Regions from separate parts of the Homo sapiens genome. Here all the other regions are linked to region 1. The links are contacts of gene promoters, found by promoter capture Hi-C in blood cells and fetal thymus (Javierre and others, 2016). All regions are on one chromosome and are shown on one strand. The core of a region is centred on a gene start or on the middle of the fragment in contact, and the rest is flanking DNA. Distances in the headings are between cores, read along the strand shown. Region 1 holds the start of IFFO2 (intermediate filament family orphan 2). Region 2 overlaps UBR4 (ubiquitin protein ligase E3 component n-recognin 4). Region 3 overlaps UBR4 (ubiquitin protein ligase E3 component n-recognin 4).

Region 1 (4,860 bases), core at 1,280-3,779:
GTGTAAGACCTACCCCCAGGAAGCTAGGCGCCACATGAGAGAGCTTGAGGACTCTCAGCATTTCTACTCCCTGCTAGCTTGACAAAGTGCCTATCATCTTTAATAACACCAGCATGATTACTTTATACCTCCCAAAGAGCATCACCATCCTGCTGTCTCCTCGAGCAACTGTGGGCAGATTTTATTATTCCCATTTCTCTGATGAGCAAACAGGCTTTCAAGTGATTTGATAATCTCACCAGCAGGTATAAGGCTGGCATTTGAATCCTACCCAGTTGCTAGCCTGTCCAATGGGAGAATACGGAAGGAGACCTATGCCCAGCTCCCTGGACAGACCTTTAGAGATGGAAGGAAGGGTCCTTCTCAGTACATCCTCCAAGCCCTGGAGTTCAGAGCCAATAGCTCCGAATGGAAGGCTGCCTGTGCCTGGAACAGCGATTGCCAGGGCCAGAGGGCCCCTTCCCCAGCCAGGCCTGAGATGCCAAAGACAGACCCTTCTTCTCTTATGGGAAGAGGAGGAGGATAGGAGACCCCTCTCCTCTTATCGGAAAGCCAAGCAGACAGTATTGTCGGCCAGACTGCAGACAGGAAGCAATGACAGTTTCCCAGCTGGGGAATCTGGGCTAGGCAGGAATGCACTGGCCAGTCTTGCAGAGTCTGGACCCCAGTTCTAGCCAGAGATTGTGGTCTCAGTCCATTCAATGTCCAGTCTCCAGCCCAACATTATCTTCTCCTGGGGGCTTTTAAGGCTGAGTTTGTTAGGGCTCAATAAACCATGAGACTCAGGGAGTGGGGAGAAGAGGGATGAAAGGAGGCATTTTATAAAAGCTTGTGAGCAGTCTGTTGTAGTTGTGGTTATCCAACCCAGCAAGCTGGACCTTACAGAGCTGGAGCAAGACGGCAGACACTGGCCCCAGGGGGTAGGGGCAGATCCATCCATTTTCAAAAACGTGATCTCATTTAATTCAAGAAATAAAAAGGCAGTGGGTTGGTTAGAGTTTTTCTTTTCATATGTTGAGGGAGGGGAGCATATTTCCTACTTCCTTGGTAAAAATACTTATGCTAGGAGACAGACTAGCCAGGAGTGGTTAAAATCTCTGGTTGAAATCCCGGTTTCACCACTTACTCGCCAAGCCACCTTAGGCAAATCACTTAGCATTTCTGCACCTCGGTTTCCTCATCTGCGAGATGAGGATAAGACTGCCTTACACAATACGCTGTATTGTGCTGAGAATTAAATGAGATCGCATAAAACACAGACAGTTATTATGTCACCTAGAAAACAATGTGCCTCACCAGTGACAGCATCGAGGTGGCCCCCACGGTAGCCAGCGCCCGCCCCCATCCTGGGATCTAGATAACTGGGCCTTCCTGGCGTACGTAAGACGCTCTGCAAACACAGCTTCCAGCCCACCTGCCAGTACCAGCTGCCCGCCCGGCCCCCGTCCCGCATACGCATTCCGCGGCAGCCTGGACCTGGGCGCCCCGTCCCAGGGCGGCGGGGGAGGGGCGGCCACTCACCTCCGCTTATACTCGTCGCGCTCGCGCTTCACCTTGGCCAGCACGTTGTAGAGCGCGCGGATCTCCGGCGTGATGGTGTCGATCTGCACGCCCACGCCGTCGGGGTGCACCCACGACACGCCGGGGCCCTGCACGGTCTCCACGCCGCCGCCGCCCGTGCGCCGCACCTGCGTGTAGCTCCAGATGGTCCCGGGCAGGCGGCCGTAGTGCTGCGGGTGCGAGCCGCCGCCGGGGGGCAGGCCGCCCAGGGCCACGGCATTGGCGTTGGCGCCGGCCGCCGCGCCACTGCTGAGGCCGTGCCCGCCGCCGGGCGCCGGGGGCCGCAGCAACTCGGGCCCGGTCTGCACGGCCTGCTCGCGGGAGAAGGTCTTGTAGCGCAGCCGCCGCTCGCGCTCGCTCTGCTGCTGCTCCAGCTGCTTCTCCAGCAGCCGGTTGCGCCGCTCCAGCTCGTGCACCTTAGCCAGGAAGCAGCGGAAGCGCACGTTGAGCCCCTTCAAGAGGTGGATGTTGGAGCCCAGGTCGTCCCGCAGCGCCGCCGTCACCGGCGACGGACCCGGCCCTGCCCCGCCGCCGCCGCCGCCCCCGCCAGGGCAGCCCCCGCCGCCGCCGCCCGGCGGGCAGCCGAAGGCCAAGGCCATCTCCCCGAACAGCAGCGAGTTCACCATGCGCCGGCTGCGCGGCTCAGGGCCCCGGGCCCGCGGCTCCAGGTGCGGCTCCAGCTCCGGGCAGGGCTCCCGGCGCGGCCGGGCCAGGGTGGGCGCGGGCTCCAGCGCGGCCGGCCGGGCGGTTCCAGATGCGCGCCAGATGCGGCCTCCGCAGAGACGGCAGGACGGATGGCCCCGGATGCGGGCGCCGAGGCGAGAGAGGGCACTCGGCCGCTCCTCGGGACGCGGTGGAGGCCGCGGTATCTGCGCGGGGCCAGAAGGGTCGCGGGTCTCACCGCCCGGGCTGTCAGAGACGCTGTGGAGGGGCCGCGGCAGCCGCACGCAGAGGACTCTCGGCCGGCACTGCCCCTTCTGCGGCGGGCCCCGCCCACTGCAGACACTGGCCCCGCCCCCGCCGCGGCCCCGCCCACCCCTCCTCCCTCTGCGGCGTTCCCCGAGCCCGAGGCTCCGCCCCACGAGGCCCGCAGCGCCGGGCCCCACCCACAGACCCTCGGCTCCGCCCACCTCCGGGTTCTCCCGCTTTCTCCGCAGCATAGACTCCGCCCAGCTCCCCGGCGGGGCCACGCCCTCTCCTGCGTCTGGTCCTGCCTCCCCGCCGGGTGCCGATTCTCTGCTGGGGGACCCGGACCGCAGAGCTGCACCAGGGACCGGGTTAGCTGGAACCGCCGCAGAGCCAGCCGGGCCTCTTAAAGGGGCCAGCAGCCTCGGCAACGCTCGCTTTCCACTTTTTAGGGCGCTCCTCTCCCACGTCGCCTGCCGAGAGGGCTCCGTTTCTCTGTCCTCTCTGCCCGCAATGCCCCTGGCCCCAAATTCCTTCGGATGTGCGCGACCGCGGCTGGAAGGGCTGGGGGACCACAGTATCCGAAGGTGCATCGGCACCCCACCCCCACTCTAGCCTGGGGAGGCCCAGATCGACCTTTCGGGGATAAGAGGGCGCCCGTGCCCCACGCTGCGGACCCGGGGGTGGGCTCCTCGAATGCTAGCTGCGGGCCTTGTCCTCTCGAGATCGGCCCGGGCACAGCTAAGCCCGCTGGTTCCCCCGCCCACTGAGGAGCCGAGCAGCATGGGGGTTGGGGAGGCCGAGCAAGACCCTCCCGGGATGACACCCACAAACTCGGCCTGGGCCTCGCCTCTGCTGAGCTGCTCAGCACCTCCCCACCACCCACACCCACACGCTGAGATGAAGCTGACCCCGAGAGCTGGGGATTCATTTCACAGACATGGGGCTTAGCGGGCCGCCTGGGGCAGACCGAGGCAACCCGAGGACCCATTCATTCATTCATTCATTCATTCAAATGTTTTCACACCTACCACGTTAAAGGCCAAGTTCTCCAGTCTCTGGTGTCTCCTGAACCGTGTTGCAAACATTAGTATATGTCAGGCGCCATACTTATTTATTATCCCCATTTTACAGAGAAGGTCACTGAGACGTTAAGTAGCCACAATGGTCCAAAGTGCATGCTCTAACCGGCCTTCCACAATGCTGGCCTCGGGCCTCGTGTCCATTTCCGCATTTGGTCCTCACCGCAAACCTCAGAGGGGAGGTGACCCCCACCTTGAACCCCCACCTTTGAACGCCTGTGGCTTGCATTGTATGCACTTAACCAGATATGTGGCATGTTTCAGATACTTCCGACTGCATTTTTTACTAGCAGTTTAATTTTTGTCTTGTTATTAACTTTTGTGTTTGTTTTGTCTCTTTGTATGTAAGCTTGAGGACAGGCACACTGTCTTACATGGACAATGCCTTGGTGTTCTTGGTGACAAAGGAGACACGGGCTTGCCCTGGAGTGATGTGGCTGTGATGTTAGTCTGCTGTGTTTTTGATTTAGCCACAAAAGCAAACCTTCCCCATAGTTCCTTCCCTCAACCACAGTTCCTTGCTTCCTGCCAACACGGACTCACCTTAAACACCCAGCTCTGAAACTCACTCATCTAGAAACCTTTCTCTGCTTAACCCAACCCAGTCTGGACACTGCCCTTTACTCTTCGTTCTCTCGTCTCTTGATGATGTTCTTGTTTATCTAACCTAAGGAATCAAAACCCCTTTGCCTTGAAGCAGAGGTTCATGGACCCCCAAGAGGACTGAGGATAGAATTCTGGGGGGTCCATGACACAGGGGTGGACAAAAGTTATACCTTTAGCCTCACTAATCTCTAAAGGCTTTGTTGTCTGTTTGTTTATTTGTTTGTTTGAAACAGAGTTTCACTCTTGTTGCCCAGGCTAGAGTGCAATGGTGCGATCTTGGCTCATCACAACCTCCACCTCCGGGGTTCAAGAGATTATCCTGCCTCAGCCTCCCAAGTAGCTGGGATTACAGGCATGCGCCACCACACCCGGCTAATTTTTTTGTATTCTTAGTAGAGATGGGGGTTTCTCTATGTTGGTCAGGCTGGTCTTGAACCCCCAACCTCAGGTGATCCGCCCACCTTGACCTCCCGAAGTTCTGGGATTACAGACGTAAGCCACCGTGCCCAGCCAATGGTTTTTAACATATCCTTTGATTATGAATGTAGGCAGCAAGTAGATGTCCCTGTGATTTTGTCACTAGTAGAAATCACAGGTATTTATGTAACACACTACAGTTATTGTAAACATCTCAAGATATCATCTAAGCTACGAGAACTGTGAAATTAAAGTCATATTAGACCGACCACTAAATCTTATTTAATGT
Region 2 (4,860 bases), core at 634-3,133, 160 kb after region 1:
TTGCTGTGGTACATGAGCCTTATTCTGCCTCTTGGAATAACAGCAATACTTCCATCCTGTGTGCAGAACAGCTCTGTAAGTCTTACTATTCAAGTAGTGTCAACCTGTGTTCTCCCTTCAGTAGCAATGCCTGAGAGTTCAAAAAAAGGCGATCTGTCTCTGTGAAAGTCAACACTATAACCCATGTGAGTGCCTCTCTTGGCCTAAATATGACATGCCCTGGTTCAGTCACTGGGATACATGGGCTAGGAAGATCCAGTATCAGCAGATACAGAGAAAAGGCACCATGTGGAAATCGAAGAGTGTGTGTACTAAAGAAGCTTCTTGAGAAATAACTTTCTGCCCTGTGAGCAAGAGCATAGCTGTCTTAATCCAAGAAATGACAATTACTTCCCAATACAGAAGGTTTTATCTAAGTCTAGACCTTTGTGTAAGAATAGTTAAAATGGGCATGAGAAGCCTGGAGGTCCCCTCACTCAGCTTCCCCTCCCTAGGCAGGCTGTTGAGGAACTTCCACAGACCCCTATGGCTCCACTGGGCTAATTTAGAAATAATCTTTGTCAACATGCTTAGAACTGTTGTTTCACTTTTGTCCTTTGGTCATGAATGGAGGGGCCAAGAGGATGTATTAGGCCTCTAGGGATGTGCTGCCTTACTCCATTCCAGGAACCGAAGGCAGCAACTGAGCTTCAGCCTTACAACCTGCTGCCCCTCCCGAGGCCTAAAAAGCCCGTACTTGTTTTTCAACTCCACGATGGCCTGCACGGTTCGGTTGTTATAATACAGGTTGATGGTCCGCACCATCTTGGTCCGTTTCAGATCCCCGATTTTCACTGTCACTTTGCTGATGGTGTGACTGCCAATGAGCTTCACAACCTGCTGGGTGGTGGTGTACCGCGTGTCCACTTTAATGGAAGACAGCTTGATATACTAAATACAAGAGTTCACAAAACATGGTATTAGTTCAAGACTCGTACTGCCTTTTTAAAAATTCATCAGTGTAACCCACTCTTCATCCACAAGATGAAGTTTCTATTTAATTTTTTAAAAAATATTTTGTAGAGATGGGGTCTCACCATCTTGCCCAGGCTGGTCTAAAACCCCTGGGCTCAGGGGATCCTCCCATCTTAGCCTCCCAAAGTACTGGGATTATAGGCTTGAGCCACTGCACCCAGCCAAGTTTCTATTTAAGGTAATAAATGTGGCAGATAAAAATTCCTACTATCGGTGACCAACCATTAGGAGAGGAACATCTATGTGATAATGATCCATCTCTGGAAACAAGAATCCCACTGGACCTATTGGCCTCAGGACTGTCCATGTACAGATGTTACTTACACAGAACGGTACTTCCGGGTTATTACACACCAGGCAGGGATCGCTCTCCAGGTAATAGCCATCAAACTCCACTAAGCCAGACAAAGTGCTAAGGAAGAAACCAGTCTTAGCATGAACACATTTTCATCTTAGGAAGCACTGAGTTTCACAAAAAAATCATGACAAAGCCATGGCTCAATGTGAGCCAAAGTGAGCCCAAAGTGAGCCCCACCCTAGTGAGAACTCAAGGACACAGGAGAAATCCCAATAGGGTTACGAAGCCACAGGAAAGAAATTTCAACTAACTGACCTTAGATGTTTCCTAATCTTTGATCTATCCTTCAGAGGAATTCTAAAAAGTAGTAAAATTTGACTCAAGAGTCACAATTAAATTTACTAAAAATCATTGAACTGTACATTTAAAATAGGTTAATACATAAATTATCTCAATAAAGTTTTTTTAAATTTTTTTTAAAGAACAGTCACTACTAAACCAGAGAAATAATAAACTGTCAATTTAACCAATATCCTCTTTTAGAAGTTTTTTTAAAAAAAGGAAGACATTTTCTTTAAATTTGTTTCACCTTATTTAACTTAAACCCTTGAAACTAAAGACCTTTTTTTTTTTTTTTTTTTGAGACAGGGTCTCACTCTGTCACCCAGGCTGGAGTGCAGTGGCGTGGATCACAGTTCATTGCACCCTCGAACTTCTGGCCCCAAGCCATCCTCCTGCCTCAGCCTCCCCAGCAGCTGGGACCACAGGTACACGCCACCACGCCTGGCTAACTTTTTTAAATTTTTTTTTAAGAGATGAAGTCTCACTATGTTGCCCAGGCTATACAGACCTTTCTACATTACTACTCACCAAACCCTGAACTCAGCAATGACATTTTGAGTACCTTCTATTTGCAAGACCCTGGCCTACATGGAGGGGATTGGAATCTCAACTAGGCAGATTCGCTCTTCTCTCAGGCGCTTGTCAATTCCTATGTAAGAGCCTATCACCATGCAAATAACTCCTCAGAATGCTGACTGAGCTTCCCACAGGTAGAAAGCAAAACAAAGCTCACTTATAAATGTTCGAGTTGGGGTGGTTGGTAAGAATATGGTTTTGAGTCCGCAGAATCTCCACAGCCTTCTGTGAATACTCCTTCAACTGAAACAGAATTCAGTAAAGAAACAACTTAAAGCCCAAGGTGAAGTCTTATTGGAAAAGACTTTTGTCTTCTGCATTCTAGCTGAATACTGCCCTAGACCTACCAGACTTCTCAGTCAGAATCATACAAAGCTGGGCCTAATTTCAATCATTTAAATGGATTCTATCTCCTTTAGAAGTTTCCATGAGCTTTAGTGATAGGTAGTACCCTTTTCTGACCTGATGGAGGAAGATCATTTTTATTTTTATGGAGAAGCCATAAAATGGTTAGCTAATTGCAGAAACATTTTCTGGTATGTATAATCAGGGCTACTAGCAAAACAAGGAGCACTTGCTTTTCCAAGGAACTGTAATGAGTTCTATCTTCTTTCCCCACCTGACCTTGACCTACGTCCTATGTTAAGTTAGATTTGTTAGTGTATACTGTCTACATCACAGACATATTACGAGTGCTTACCAAGAAATGCAAAACTAGATATATTTAAAAGAGGTTTCCTATATGGACTCCCTATATCTGGGTTGTTCATAATATTCTTAACTCAAGAGAAAAAAGGTTAAATATGGCAAGTTGGCCCCTCTGACCATAAAGCAACTGTTACCTTCTTCTCTGTTTGTGGAGTTTTCAGGGAGAAATATCCTAGTAGGTCCACAAACTGGGCAGCCTTACGACCATAGGCTGGGAGTTCTGGCCAGATGGACCACATCAGATCTAGCAGGAGCTCCTGTTGAGATTTGCTGGAATTTCTGTGGATATATGACAGCTCATGTTACCAAGCAGCAGAAAACCCTGAGGCACCTGTGTTTATCATTGAGGCTCTGGTACCTCAATTTCCCCACAATTATGGGTTAAGTTTGAACGGTTTTGTTTCACTTTTGACAATCAATCCTACCAGATGCAGCATAGTCATTTGCTGCCTCTACCCATCACCCAACATATCCCAGAGCAGAAGCTGAGCTTTTTTAGCCTGAAGGGTCAAGCTTGGTCATGTTACAAACCCCGATACATAGCCTTCTGAGTAGAAAACAGATCGTCTCCTGCCTATGACGTCAGTTTAATGGCTAAAAAGCAGACAACAATAAAGAAATCTCTAAAGCACAAGAGGATTCAGGCTGGCGTAACTACTGACTCTGTGACCATATGTAACCGAAAACAAAATAGAACTGCATTACGCACCCTGGCCTCACACCCTTGCAGATCTGTCAAACCAAGCCCTGGCCCTACCTGTAGATGTGCAGTGTCAGACAGTGGGCCTGCCAGCGCACCGAGGAAGAATTGGACTCTAACAGGAAACAACGCAGGAACTGGATCAGGGTTTCCTTATCGGCAAATTTGTTCAGCTGGTTCACCAGAGCTGTGCACAGCTGGTCCTCCTGGCTGCCAGAGGTCTCACCTGCAAGATTAGGACAGGACTAAGGGCTGAAGAGTAGGAAGAAGTCCTCCAGGGTCCTAAGGCCTGGGCTACCAAATGGTGAGGGAGGGAATTCTGTCCATTTCTAAAAGTTTCTACTGAATGCTGATATTCTGCAAAACAATTTTTAGTTGTTTACTGGGGGACAAATAGGTCAGCCCCAAATGAGACATATGTGTAACGTTGGTGATGCAGTGGTGAGCACAGCTGCCTTCCAGACAAGACATACAATAATGACACTAAAAACCACAGGATAAAGTGCTATGTAAGCTGGCACTGAACAAATACAGTGACACTGGAGGAGGAGGAACTTCCTTTCAAGGGCTTGCAATAGGCCTACACAGAGATGTCTGATCATTAACTGGGGGAATGTGAACCACCACCATGGCTCTCAACCCTGACCACTGATCTCAGGTCTCCAAGGACCATGGAAAGCAGTGCAGCTGATGGTGAGGGTCAGCTAAGAGAGCTAACATTTACTGAGCATTTACCAATGTACTCAGTGTCATTTCACTGAACTCTGATGGGAGCTCCATAGAGAAGGTGTTATTATTTCACAGAATAAGAAATTTGGTCTACTAAAAATGTTCAGTGCACTTTGACTTTTCTTATTACTGTCACTTGGTATGAGAAGTCATGCTGTTTAAGGTGTCACTTCAGTATAATTGAAAATGAGACCAAAAGTAGACACTAGAGAACATTTGGGCTTTAAGTCCCCTCTAAATCAGGATTAAAAGACCTTTTACAACAGGACAAACCATGTGCTCCAAGAGAGATTTACATACATCATTGTAGTCACAATGACAAGAGGGTGACCCTTACCATCTTTCTCCTTTTCTTTTTCTTCTTTCTTGCTCTTTTTAGTGGAAGACTTGGACTGTGTTGTGGCTTGTCCAGAACTGGCAGCCACAGGGGCTGAGGAGGAAGAAGCACTGGAGGATCCCGAAGAGGCTGCCAGTGCAGCGAGCACCTTGCTGC
Region 3 (4,860 bases), core at 1,539-4,038, 140 kb after region 1:
TAAGGAGATTAGTTGGATGAATACCCAAACAAAACCCTACAATGCAAGAAATGAGTTACATTACAAAATCCATTTTAAAAACAACAACAATGATAATAGTTAACACAAGTGCAGCTATTTGGGGAAAGACAGTCAGATGCTGGCTCTATAGAGAGGTATTGGAGAAGGGAAGTGGGCCAGCAGGACGGGAAAAGGTGTGCCTAAGAATGTAGTCCTAACTGCCAGGTCCTTCACTGGCTCGCACTGCTCCACGGCACCATGCTGCCCTCTAGGGTAAAATGACACAGTGGCCATAGCTTCTTTCCACAGGGGCCTCTCCCAGTGCAGAAAGGCTGGCCCCCACAACTTGCTGCCCCCAACTCACTGTTAGAAGGTGGCGTCCCTGCTTGAAATCTCTGATCCCTGCGAGTCTGTTAAGCATGCATTCCAGGCCCCCACACTGGGCCATCACACCAGCCATTTTATACACTTCTTCTTCATCTTCTTCTTCATCTAGGGGAGAAGGGAAGCCAAGCAGAAATGGAGGGTAAGGTGAAGATGGGAATAAAATAGGCCAGGATAAGACAGCCCTATTCCTGGCTGATGGCTGACAGCCCTTTTCCGTATCTCCAATAAAGACACGGCCAATAAAAGGGGTCAATGATGGATGATATTAAACTGTCCCACTCTCAGTAGGAGCTTTTTTAAAGTTTCAAGTCAATTAAAATTACTTACTCAAATGTCAAAGTATGAGCACCAATACCATCAATGGAGTGGGGGGAGAGGGAGTTAAAAATAAATCTGAACTCCAGTTTACTGTTCATTGCATTTTCCTCTAAAAGTTTGCTGGTATTCTTTTTTTTTTTTTTGAACACTCAGTGGTATCTGCATCATGCCACAGACACCTCTTTTTTTCCTCAATTGAAGAAACAATCTCCCCACAATTCTGATGCAGAGGTACAAGAGAGAAGCAACTGAGAATGCCCCTAAGTCCTGGGACGTGAGCCGCTCATGAGTCCCAAGCCTCAGATCCAATGTGCAGTGCCATGATCTACCTGTAGTAGAGTCCAGGGACTCAATGAACTCCTCTGTGGCATCGCCCAGCAGCCCCCGCATACGATAAACAATCCTCATGGGCTCTCCCTGAGCAGAGAAAGTTGGAGAAAGGTACTTAAAAACAGGCCCAGACAAATGCAAAGGACTCCATACTTGGTCTTGCTTAAAGCCCCAGCAATGTGGAGAGCCTCTATTTTTCTACAAAGTCTCAACCACAACATCTAGAATCCAAATGCACAGCAATTCACTTAGGGGAAAGAATGCTAATTTTATTTTGTGTCTACTAGAAGCTAGACATTGTATGAAACATTTTAAAGACACTATCTCCTTCAATTTCATTAGAACACTATGTAATAATCTAACAAATATTTATTGAATGTTTTACTCTGTGCCAGGTCCTATGCTAATTAAGTACTTTCTATGATCCTTTTACATAAGGTTACACAGCTTGTTCAAGGTTACCAAGCTATAAGCGGAGGTCTAATTCCAAGCCTGGACCTTCCTCAGGAGTAGAAACTGTCTCCAATCAATAGGGACTACTACCCAGGACAAACAAGGCCATTTAAATCAAAGAGCTTTGACTCAAGCCTCGGGAATCAAAACAGGAAAAGAGAGTACATCAATCTTTACCTACAGAGATTCAGACGTCTTTATATAACCATACAAGGAGGGGGTTCATCCACAATTCTTTAAGCTAAACCCACAATCTGACTAGAATGATAAGAATCAAGTCTTTTATAAATGACAAAATTACAGCAACTTCACTAAATTGGAGAATAAGGAAAGTTCCCTGTATGTCTGGCACTGAGCACATATATTAATATTATTCTCATTTTGCAGACTAGAAATTGGAGCTCAAAGTAACCACTGATGAAATCCAGTGGGGGATTTGGTAGCACGCTAATTCAAGCAGCCTGCCTCCAAGTCTATGCTGAGCTTCAGGACAGGACACCCTGGAGGAAGACAACCTGCCAGAAAGGCCAGTTGCAGAAGTGTTTCCGGCTATAGAAGCCCAGTGAGAATTCCTCAGAGAGAACCACCACAGACACTGAACACAGAGCAGGTTCTAGTTCTAGTCAGTAGCTACAGAGGTAGGCTGCTTATCAGGGAAATGGAGGGCAAGGTAGAGAAGGGAAGCTGAAGTCCCAGAACATAGGCTATCACAAACTCAGAACTTTGCCAGAAAACCTTCTAACTGGATTAAGCACATCAATGTGAGGGGCAAATGATTCTCAACTTCTATCTTGCTTCACCATTCAAGGGAGATACCCTGGTGCATTCTGTGGGTTCACTACCACCATTTACCAGAGTGCCCACAGAAGCTTGGTCTTAATTTTTTATATGCATCAGGGATTAAATCTGTATTGTTCTGTTTTGATGCTACAATGTCTGTAACAAGAGGTACTGGCTGGGACAGTTCTCTGCCTGTCCCTCAGCCAACAGTGCAACAACGACCCCACTGGCAGTAGACCAACAGTCAACAGTAAGCAGGATTCCCAGCCCAGTGGGAGAAAAGAAAGGAGAGAGGCGGAAATATGTAACAAATTGAAGATCAAAATCTACAAATAGTATACTGCCAATTTAGTTTCTCAAACTCTACAGAAGTATTTGGGACCAAGTCTAGAAAAGTTTGCTGTGCATCCCTGCTACACTAGTTTGCTGTAATTAAGTTACTTATCTGATTCATGTGCTAAAGACCTCTCCTCCCAATAGAAACAAGAGAAGGGAAGAAATGGCAGGGGGAGAGAGAAATGGAGGGGAAGAAAAAGAAACAGGAAGAGAGGAATGGAAGGAACAGAGAGTAAGAAAGGAGGGAAAGGTGAAGGGGACCATCTAATACTTCCATAAGTGGACAAACAGCATCACTCGTGGTGGCCAAAAGGCCCAGAGCGCTGGACTTCCTTCATTTCCCTTTTCCCCTCCTCAAGAATAACTGCCTGTTTGAGCCTCCATTCCCCAACTAGTAAAACAGAAATGATGCTCCTTGACACAGCTACTGGAAAAATGTTCTACTAAGCGAGCAGGCCCATAAAAGCTGAGAACTAATCTCAGCTGAGAGGTGTCCATACTGAAGGGAACAAGACAGCAAGCATTCCCAGCACAGAGCCTCCTTCGACACCCCCTGGCTTTCAGTTCTTGGGGTTTGACAACTTGCACAGCCCAGCAAAATGCTTTTGCTTTCCTGAAGCTTCATGAAGGTCATTAAATGTCCCTCCATTAGTCAGATGCCTCCAAAGGAAAACAAGATTGGTTTTCTCCACACAACCCCAAACAGGGACAGTAAAGCCTTAGAGAGCTGCTACAAGCCAGGTAAGTGATGATGAACAATGGCTCCTGCTGGTACAAGTCTGCATAAGTCAGAAAAGTGAAACCACACCTCCAAACGAGAAAGCAGGCACATACCTCATTCGTGGTACACCAGACTTTCTTGTAAACTTCAGCCACAGGAAGGTCCAAACTAATGATTTTATTGTTCACTAGAAGCTGAACAGAAAAGCAGGTGAAGCTGTTGTTCCAAATAATTGTAAGACAAGTAAAATCCAAGAGCAAAGGGCACCTTACGGCAATGGTTGATAATTCACAATTTTTATATGTCATGGACCTATCAACTCTCCCACTCTTAAAAAATCCGCACGTATGAAAAACACACAGAATTTTGTGCACAATTTCAGGGGCTGCTAACGTCCCTAACCCACACACAGGCTCCAGCTTAGACACACCCACCGGGGACCTTCTCCTGCAGGCTCAGCACCAGAAAAGGCTTTTCACTATGTAAAAATGTCAGACCCTCAACGGTCTGCCAGAAAGTAACTGACACGGGGACATAAACCTGCACAGGGGGTAAAACGCCAATATTTAGGGGGCTCAGGTAACTCAGACTCACCGAGAAGTCTCTGCCAGAGGCAATAACGATAATAAATACCCACCACCACTACAACCAACAGCCATTAACAATATGCTTACTTCCTGCCAGGCACTGGGCAGAGCCCTTTACAGGTTATTAACCTTAGCACTAGGTGAGGTAGAAAGGTGGGAATCATTAACCCCAACTTACAGAGTGGAGAAACTGAAGGCCACCTGCCCCAAGTTAATCAGCTACTAGGAAGAAGCACCTGGATTTGGTTAGCCTAGGAGGAAGCCCCTAATCGTAAACGTGGGCAGCACTGTCCTATGGTCATTACCTCCATGCCACTGTCATCTTCCAGGAGGGCCACTAAGTCACAGTCCTGGCAAATCTTGTTCTTTATATCCCTCATCAGCGGCCCGATGCCTGGCTCATTGCTGCTATACGGGTTCCCAGGCATCCTGCCCTGTAAGAAGTCTTCTTGTTGGGGATCCTTCTCCAGGGTCACAAAGAACTCAGTGACTTCATTCTCCTCCTGGAGGACAGACAGAAGGGTGCATCAGAAGGGATGGCAGAGGTGGAGATTTATACCATGCTACCTTGTTCCATGGACACTCGAGGAAAACACACCAAACTCAGCAAGCCCCCCAAACATTTAAAGATACAAAGGACAGGAAACTCAGAGGTACTTCCAAAAATCTAAACAAACTCAAGTAGACTAAAATATCAAGCATCTACCCTGAAACCCCAGGGTGGATTAGGAGATAAAGCCTAACAAAACAAGCAGACAAGGAGTGACATATGAGAGATATATTAAAAAATCGGGGAAGGGGTGCGAGGAGGGACTTTCCTTCCTCCTCCTGCTGGTCTCATGTGATGCTAACCAATTTGGGGCCAGAGGACTTTGTCACTGATGACCCTGAAGTCAAGAAAAGGGCTTCTCTATGGGACATGACACTCAGGTACACACCCCCAATGAG

The links. Contacts are between HindIII fragments. The CHiCAGO score rates a contact against its expected background, and 5 or more counts as called.
Region 2: a contact is called between a fragment that was not itself captured here and the fragment with the promoter of IFFO2 in region 1, in 2 of 17 cell types (activated CD4 T cells and endothelial precursors). The highest score is 5.7, in activated CD4 T cells.
Region 3: a contact is called between a fragment that was not itself captured here and the fragment with the promoter of IFFO2 in region 1, in 5 of 17 cell types (endothelial precursors, non-activated CD4 T cells, naive CD4 T cells and 2 more). The highest score is 8.3, in endothelial precursors.

The regions. Positions count from the first base shown.
Region 1 is chr1:18,954,147-18,959,006 of GRCh38, forward strand. IFFO2 (intermediate filament family orphan 2) reads right to left here and starts at 2,530. Exons shown (of 9, transcript NM_001136265.2): 1 at 1,522-2,530. The coding sequence starts at 2,186. RefSeq lists silencers at 1,283-1,472, 1,713-1,972, 2,543-2,712. The HindIII fragment of the contact is 3,069 bases long and covers 827-3,895 here.
Region 2 is chr1:19,116,485-19,121,344 of GRCh38, forward strand. UBR4 (ubiquitin protein ligase E3 component n-recognin 4) reads right to left here. Exons shown (of 106, transcript NM_020765.3): 68 at 4,705-4,860; 69 at 3,696-3,864; 70 at 3,073-3,217; 71 at 2,388-2,473; 72 at 1,339-1,426; 73 at 737-930. Among named protein-coding and RNA genes, the nearest start is that of UBR4, 91 kb to the right of the region's middle. RefSeq lists an enhancer at 3,072-4,271. The HindIII fragment of the contact is 3,131 bases long and covers 319-3,449 here.
Region 3 is chr1:19,096,159-19,101,018 of GRCh38, forward strand. It overlaps UBR4 (ubiquitin protein ligase E3 component n-recognin 4), which reads right to left. Exons shown (of 106, transcript NM_020765.3): 89 at 4,218-4,415; 90 at 3,439-3,519; 91 at 1,035-1,122; 92 at 365-492. Among named protein-coding and RNA genes, the nearest start is that of UBR4, 110 kb to the right of the region's middle. The HindIII fragment of the contact is 866 bases long and covers 2,356-3,221 here.